Regions from separate parts of the Homo sapiens genome. Here region 2 is linked to region 1. Evidence: promoter capture Hi-C in 16 types of primary human blood cells and fetal thymus (Javierre and others, 2016). All regions are on one chromosome and are shown on one strand. The core of a region is centred on a gene start or on the middle of the fragment in contact, and the rest is flanking DNA. Distances in the headings are between cores, read along the strand shown. Region 1 holds the start of ACBD3-AS1 (ACBD3 antisense RNA 1). Region 2 overlaps ENAH (ENAH actin regulator).

Region 1 (4,209 bases), core at 69-2,568:
CGGGAGGTGGAGATTGCAGTGAGCTGAGATCGTGCCATTGCACTCCAGCCTGGGCGACAGAGCCAGACTCCGTCTCAAAAAAAAAAAAAAATGAAAGAGCTTTGTGAATAAGAATTCTCTGTTCAGAAGTTGGTTGAGGTAATGTATTTCTCCTGGCTTGCCTATTAGAGAGCTTCTAAAAGGTGGTTACTGCCTAGTCTGAACCCTCAGCTGATGATAGTTTTGGGGTTATATTGGTGTTGGGAAGATCACTAGTGAAAATGGCAGGGGTTCATTTCTAGAGGTAAGAACCTTAATATCCTTGATCTTAGTTCTAATATGTCCCTCAAATGAAAGATGGCATTCCCTGTACTTGTACCATTCCTAATCATAAAATGATTTGCAGCTAAAACATTTTAGCCTCACAGCAGTGAAGCTTTATCATTCCTAAGAATTGTTCATTACATGAGCGTCACTTCATCCCATTTAAAGATTTAGCTCACAAATTGTATTTGTCCATATGCCTTAGAAGCTACTGTCCTACCGTGTCTTGTATTTCATATGGTAGAAGAGTCTGAGTTTTTTGGGTTTTGGTTTGGTTTTTCTTCCTTAGGTCTTGAAAGGTAGACAGAGGAGTTTGCTTTCTCTGAAGAAGCATGGATGGTAACACATCCTCCTGTTTTAATTCTCCATTTTCTTCATTGTTTACAGGTCCTAAACCTTGGCTTAAATTCATAAAAGATGCCTTTTCATCTATCCCAGTAATCTTTAGTTTTATAGATTTAAAACAAAATTTGAGTCTTGAATCAATGGACCAGTCTATTTCTTGGATGTCAACAATAGTGTACATTTTGGATGGTTCTGTATTTCTCATTTGCATGTGAAACATGCTTAATTATAGGTATTTCTGTGGTTAAGTAAATCTGGTTTTGACCTACCTTTATAAGAGTGCCATCTGCTTTTTTAAAATAAACTTTTAATTTTAGAATAGTTTTAGATTTACAGAAAAGTTACAAAGATAGCACAAAGAGTACCCATATACCCTGCACCAAGTTCCCTCTGTTGTTAGCATCTTACATTGTACTGTGGTGCACTCATCACAGCTAATGAAACAATATTGATACATTGATTCATTAATTAACTAAAGTCCATATTTATTCAGATGTTTTTAGTTTTTACCTAATGTTCCAAGATCCTTTCCAGGATGCCACATTATAGTCAGTCATCATATCTCCTTAATCTGCTATAGACGGTGAGAATTTCTCAAACTTACCTTGTTTTAAATTCCTGATAGTGGCCATTGACAAGCATCACTCAGTGTGTTGCCAGAATTCACTCTGCCATGTTATAAACCTGAAAATCCATGCCTGTAGTCCCAGTCTCTTAAACAAACAAACAAACAAAAACAACAACCATAAACCCGAAAGTCTTGTCTTCTGTGCTGAATACTCCCTTGACCTCTTTGAGCTGGTTTGTATTAAATATGTTAAACTGTGACTTCGAAGCTGGTTCATAATTTTCTCATTCCTGTAGGTTTCTAGAGGCATTTTTTTTCCTAACCTCATAGCATTACAGTTCAAAAAACTCTTAACCGGGGCAAACCTTTCAGAGCCCATTTTTTGCCACTTAGATCATCTCTGGGTTAAATTGGCCTAGTGAAAATAATTGAATTTTCAGAGTATCTCTGAATGCCTATCTCTCTACTATGATTTTTTCATTTTACTGCTTATATTTAAGATATACAGAAAGCAATAGTCCTCACAAATCATCTTCCATCTTTCTAAAATGGGGAGGACTCATATTGGTCAGAAGGAGGATGATGAGAGCAACATTTTCATGTTACTCAGATGAGTGAAATTCCTGAGGATGAATTAGGAATTGAATGGCTATGGAAAGGGGAAAATGGGACCTTGAAATAGGAATGGTAGTAAGCACAGAAAGAGATAGGATGCTGACCACTGCTACCACTAGATGTTCATCACTGGGCTCCCAGGGCTCAGAACAGGGTTTGGTGTATAGCACATACTTAGGTATTTGAATGAATGAGTGAATGAATGAATGAATGAACGAACTAATAAATGCTCACATGCACATAACTTGTTAAATGGTTCAACAGAATTCCCAACAAGAGCAGTTTCTCAAAGAAAGGATAGGCTGGGCACGGTGGCTCACGCCTGTAATCCCAGCACTTTGGGAGGCCGAGGCAGGTGGGTCACAAGGTCAGGAGATTGAGACAATCCTGGCCAACATGGTGAAAGTCCATGTCTACTAAAAATACAAAAATTACCTGGATGTAGTGGTGCACGCCTGTAATCCCAGCTACTTGGGAAGCTGAGGCAGGAGAATCGCTTGCACCCAGGAGGTGGAGGTTGCAATGAGCTGAGATCACGCCGCTGCACTCCATCCTGGGTGACAGAGCAAGACTCTGTCTCCAGAAAAAAAAGAAAGGATAGATTTTAATTGCCTGATGCAAGTGTGGTTTTCCTGAATCTGTTCATTGACTTGTCTCTGTTCTTACAGAAAACATCGGTTGTGAAGAGAAAGCCAAAAAGAATGCCAACAAGCCTTTGCTGGATGAGATTGTGCCTGTGTACCGACGGGACTGTCATGAGGAGGTGTATGCTGGCAGCCATCAATATCCAGGGAGAGGAGTCTATCTCCTCAAGTTTGACAACTCCTACTCTTTGTGGCGGTCAAAATCAGTCTACTACAGAGTCTATTATACTAGATAAAAATGTTGTTACAAAGTCTGGAGTCTAGGGTTGGGCAGAAGATGACATTTAATTTGGAAATTTCTTTTTACTTTTGTGGAGCATTAGAGTCACAGTTTACCTTATTGATATTGGTCTGATGGTTTGTGAACTCTTGCTGGGAATCAAAATTTCCTTGAGACTCTTTAGCATTCATACTTTGGGGTTAAAGGAGATTCCTCAGACTCATCCAGCCCTTGGGTGCTGACCAGCAGAGTCACTAGTGGATGCTGAAGTTACATGAGCTACATGTTAAATATTTAAAGTCTCCAAAATAAAACACCCCAACGTTGACCTTACCCGGCTGATGGTTAGCCCCTTGCTGCCTGCTCCATGTGTCTTATGAGAGCCCGTAGTTACAGTGTCCTCTAATTTGAAATCCATAAGTTAACAAGTCTATATCAGGTGCAGCTGGCTTTGATTAAAGGCCATTTTTAAAACTTAAAAACTCAACACCTCACAGATTATAATAGAAAAAGAAATGGCCTCAGTTTGATCTCGTTCAGAATGACCCAGATTGTTTCTGCTTTGGGTGCAGCTGTTTAGTTCAGAGTTATATTACAGAGAATTATTTTCTGAGATAATCTTAAACTAGAATGTTCAAAACTAATTGATAATTGAAGTATCAAGATACGTAGAACACCTCAGAGATTTTTCTTCAGGAACTTCCACAAACTTTGAATCCTTGTATCTTTATTTGGTATTCATACTACTAGTAGCAAAATACAGGTTTTTTGTTTTGTTTTGTTTTGTTTTGGCTTCATAGAGTATCTCAAATTGAAACTTTTCTGCACAAAGAATAAAATTAAGGATTTTATAAACTCAAATTGGCACCTACTGAATTAAAATACATAAAATCATTTAAATATAATTCAGCATATGGGAAGTAACATTGCACTAATATGGAAATCACTGCCAGAGACAGTCTATTTTCTTTTAATTTGTTACTACTTAGTCACAAACCCCACATTATTCCAGTTTGGAATTACTTATTAAGGAGAATTGGAAATACATATGCCCATGCTTAAATTTTATAGCTTTAATTTGTGTTATTTCTTTATTGACGGGAAGAGGTACATCTTTTTTTCCTTACTGAAAACAAATATGGATTAATTGCCTCAAATTTGTATAAGTGATTGGCTAGTGATTCTTGTTTTCAGAAGGGAGAGTGGTATAGATAGAAAATGACAAAGATGGCAATATACACTTAATGTTGTTATTGTATGTTGTTACTGAAGTACTTAGATTTTTAAAATTTCAAATCCTAAATCACTTCTTGTAGGAGGGTTTTCATTAACTGCAGTATATACAGTTCACTACATATGGGTTGTTTGAGTTTTTTGTGTGCTGTATTTCTTTCTGTTTTTTAATACCTGGTTTTGTACATATCTAACTCTGTTCTCTTTTGGTTGTTCAGAAACTGGATTTTTTTTTTCTTAAGCAGTGCTTAATTTGTGTTTTTTAATTTTGATTCAGAAGT
Region 2 (4,332 bases), core at 1,702-4,201, 660 kb after region 1:
GGATGGGAGGTTCAGGCCTGAGTCAGGACTTTACAATTTGGTGTCCTTCCCAGAGGTACTTTGGGCTTGATCATTTTAAGTTTCAATTGCAAAAAAAAATTTTTGACGGAGTGTTGCTCTGTCACTCAGGTTGGAGTGCAGTGGTGCGATCTCGGCTCACTGCAACTTCCCCCCCCTGGGTTCAAAGGGATTTTCCTGCCTCAGCCTCCCAAGTAGCTGGGACTACAGGCGCGTGCCACCATGCCCGACTAATTTTTGTATTTTTAGTAGAGATGGGGTTTCACCATGTTGCCCAGGCTGGTCTTGAACTCCTGAGCTCAGGTGATCTGCCCGCCTCGGCCTTCAATTGCAGAAGTTTTTGAAGGGAGAATATTTGATCCTCACATAAAATGTCCTTGTTTCTGAAAGAAAACATGGTAAAAATTGTTATTGAGTCCATGTCTTTGCCACCTTGTTGGACTTGATTTCCCTTTCTCTGTGTTCCTCCCGCCCTCAGTCTCTCTCAGTCTGTCCTTTTTTGTGTGTGGAGTTGTGGGCAGGTCATTGGACTGGGACTGACTTTACCAGTTTTCAGGCTGTGGGGCTAGTCAGTCATTCTCTCTGAGCCTTCTACCTCTAAAGTTGAGTTCTTTTTTTAAATTCTTTTTGTTTTGTTTTTATTTTTTCCTTGCCACTATACAAGCAAGGATAGATAAAGCTTTTTATTATTATTGTTATTATTATTATTTCGAGACAGTCTCGCTCTGTCATCCAGGCTGGAGTGCAGTGGTGTGATTTCAGCTCACTGCAACCTCTGCCTCCCGGGTTCAAGCGATTCTCCTACCTCAGCCTCCTTAGTAGCTGGGACTACAGGCATGCGCCACCACACCCGGCTAATTTTTGTATTTTTAGTAGAGACAGGGTTTCACCGTATTGGCCAGGCTGGTCTCGAACTCCTGACCTCAGGTGATCCACCCACCTTGGCCTCCCAAAGTGTTGGGATTACAGGCATAAGCGACCGTGCCCATCCCCGATAAAGTTGAGTTCTGAATTTCCTCTTTCACTGTATTCTCGGCAGCTACTGGTTGGTTTATTCTTTTTTTTTAATCTTTTTTGGTTTATTCTTCTTTTGATCTTTGAAGAGAAGGAGAAAAAAGATCTGAGTTTGGCTCTCCCATCTTAAGTGCAGCTTTTAGTTGTTTTATAGTCATAGACGCTATTGCACTGGACAGCATGCATCCTGGATGTAAACAATGCGGAAAAATCAATGGAGTGACCATCTTGGGGTCAGTGGTGTTGCATAAAGCACCAGTGGTGTGCTGTTCTGTGTCAGTTTCCTCTGCGCCACGTGCTTTCACAGTTTGAATTACCAGCATCTCTGTGGTGGCTTCAGTACATTCTCCATTGTGCTTCAACCTGGAAGCACATTCTGCCGTTCAGAAAGACTGATTCCAATCATGTAATGGGACCACACGAGATCCATGCTCCAATTATATGAATAGCAGAAGGTCCATTTGACTCTTGTAGTTCAAGAGCTGTTTCTAAGTAAACAGACTTTCCAGAGCTCGATGAAGTGAAGAAGCCCTTCTTTCAATTCCTGGGCAGAATTCAGTGGTTTTCATATCATCTGAACCTGCTGTGCTGCTGTTTATTCTATCACTGTCAGCCTTGAAAGGAAAAAAGGAATAATCTTACCCTCCTGCCCTTCTTATTTTATATCTTCCATCTTATCCATCTATATCCATGTAGTCATTCCTTCCGAGTTCCCTGGTTTTAATCCAAAAGACTCTGTTTAACAGCAATGTCTTGGCAGACCAGGTGCCGCTTCCGTGCCATTTGAGGGCTCTGAGTCTTTGCTTCGTCTTAGGAAGATAAAGATAATTTGGCAGAAAGTCAGAGATGGAAATAGCAGTTTGGGATGATAAAAGATGGGTCCTGTTTTGCTGACATTCTTTTACTTTGGTTCTTGGTGCGTGTCCTTTGGGATTCATTTCTTGCTAGCATGAATAGGACATGCTTTTCGTTAGGTGCTTTTCTTTTTTGGAGAACATGAAGTGTTTCTAACAAAACTGAATGAGCTAGAAAGAATTCTATTTTGAGACATCTGTAGTTGATGCAAAGTATTTCTGTAATCCTCAATGACAGTACTTACATATTTGCATAGAATTTTTTTTTTAATTTTTGAGGAAACCTCTCTGGAGTCTGTATTTATAGGAGCATCCTGAAAGTCCCTATTATGTAGCTGGTGGGAGCGAGAGAGGGACAGCCACACTCGTGCTGTGAGCAGAGCACAACTTCAGGCAGAGTGAATGCCTTCTGAGTTCTCATTGGAAGCTTTCTGTTGCTCAGCCTCTGGCAGATTTCAGAACCTTCTACTTAAGCCAGGTGTGGTGGTGCGTGCTCCTAGGCACAGCGACTCGGGGGGCTGAGGCAGAAGGATCACTTGAGCCCAAAGTTGGAGGCCAGCCTGGGCAACATAGCGAGGCCTGTCTCCTTAAAAAATAAATAAATAAATAATAAATAAATAAATAAATAAAAACCTTGTCCTTGACTATTGTGCTGTCTGCTGCCCCTTTGTAGGGATGGGGTTGGGGTCAGAATAAGCATGTGCATGAATGGCGGAAAGCTTTGGTGGTGTTTGTTTGTTTGTTTGTTTTTTGAGAGGTGGGGGAGTCAGCAGTGAACCTTTCTGGTTAAAGAACAACGTACATAATTTCTATTATGAGATTTAGAAGGTTAAATACTTTTTTTTTTCAGGCCTACCAAGTTGATAGACCAAAAGTATATAGTAGAACAGCACAGTAGAAAAAATTTAAAAGTGAATTTCTTATGGTCCAAAAGGATGGATAGTCACAGTCCATAACCTTTCATAATATATGCTGGAATTGGAATCTCTTGTCATCTTGCTTTGCTCTGAATTTTAGAACTAGAAGTGTGCATGTATGTCAAAAGATTATGCAGAGCTATTTTCTTTGCTAACAATGTAAACATTTGCACCCCATGAATGGGACTTTATAATCTGGAAGTGAGCCTAAGGTTGCGTATACTGAAGTCATGTTTTAAAAGTTAAGGTTGACTTAAACATATACAAGGCTGTATTTTAATTGTAACTAGAAATCATTTACTATGCATACAGAACCTCATGTATCTTATCATGGAATTTGTGAATTAATGGGCCTTGCCGAATTCAAGGGTAAGGGAAACTGGTAACAACTTGTTTTAAATCAACATACTATAAGCTCCTGCTTGCTTGACTCAAGTTGTTTGAAAATCTGAATTAAACAGGATCTCATTGTCAGGAAACATCTTCTAAGCTTGACATCTACGTTTAAGAAGGGAACGTGGAAGAGAAGGTGAGACATGAAACTAAAACAGCTGGGAGGGTAGGATCAGACTGCACCTGATTTTTGGACCAAAGTTTCATATAGGAATAAATAAAAAGGAGGACCACTTGTGAGCCAACCTAGGAAGGACTTGCCAGAAAGTAGCAGCTCCTGCTGCAAAATACAGTGCCTTCAAAATGATTCTCTGTGTGAATTGCATGCAATTTCATGTAACCATAAAGTGTAACCTGTATGTGCATGACATGTGTCTAGAATGTGTAAAGTTAGGATTCAGCAGGAAGGGGCCTGGCCCTGTCACTGTGGTGGATCAGTGGACCTGCTGAAGTCACTGGACTCATGTGACTTAGGTTTGCAGCATCAGACCCCTGTGTTTGCATTAAGTGGCCACATCGTTGAAATCGGATCAATCTCTCCCTCAGCTTTCTTTCCTACTTTGCAGCTTTGCTGGTTTTAACTGCTTCATTCTTCTGCTTCTTGGTATCCTTTTTTCTTTTGAAATAAAAACATGAAATACTTAATTCAAATGAGATTTGTATTTATTTTACCAGTTGCTCTTAATTTACCAAAGGTATACGACATGAAAAGAGTTGCATTCTTTTGTCTTGGTTGTGATTCTGACCTTAAAATACGCTCAGTTCTAAAAGCTTGAGGAGCGTTCTATACTGGTCCTTCTGCATTTCAGCCTGTCACCAAGGGGAGTGTTTTGCGATCCGCCATCCTTTCCCTGAATGCTGCTGCTCCTCTATGACGGAAAGCTTGGTGACCTCTTCATTGGAGGCGTCCAAAGCCAGTGAACAGCCTGTTGGTAAATGAACGAGCTGCATGTACGTGCTATTTTCCTCCAGGACCAAATGCCCTGTGCATTTTAGTATTAAGCGTACTTACTGCAGGAACCAGTACTGGGACCACTGCAAAACTACACAATGGTGCAAGTGCTTTGGGGCTTTGAAGAGCTGAAGACAGACATAAGACTTAGTGTTCTCAGGCCGGGCATGGTGGCTCATGTCTG

The links. The method cuts DNA at HindIII sites, captures the fragments that hold promoters and counts their contacts. A CHiCAGO score of 5 or more calls a contact.
Region 2: a contact is called between a fragment that was not itself captured here and the fragment with the promoter of ACBD3-AS1 in region 1, in 1 of 17 cell types (neutrophils). The highest score is 5.1, in neutrophils.

Annotation. Positions count from the first base shown.
Region 1 is chr1:226,145,112-226,149,320 of GRCh38, reverse strand. ACBD3-AS1 (ACBD3 antisense RNA 1) reads right to left here and starts at 1,318. Exons shown (of 2, transcript NR_146443.1): 1 at 1,253-1,318. ACBD3 (acyl-CoA binding domain containing 3) reads left to right here. Exons shown (of 8, transcript NM_022735.4): 8 at 2,500-4,209. The coding sequence ends at 2,711. It also overlaps the pseudogene LOC124904586. The HindIII fragment of the contact is 12,330 bases long and covers 418-4,209 here.
Region 2 is chr1:225,486,344-225,490,675 of GRCh38, reverse strand. ENAH (ENAH actin regulator) reads left to right here. Exons shown (of 14, transcript NM_018212.6): 14 at 1-3,847. LOC124904526 (a long non-coding RNA gene) reads right to left here. Exons shown (of 2, transcript XR_007066903.1): 2 at 3,842-4,122. Among named protein-coding and RNA genes, the nearest start is that of LINC02765, 21 kb to the right of the region's middle. The HindIII fragment of the contact is 688 bases long and covers 2,608-3,295 here.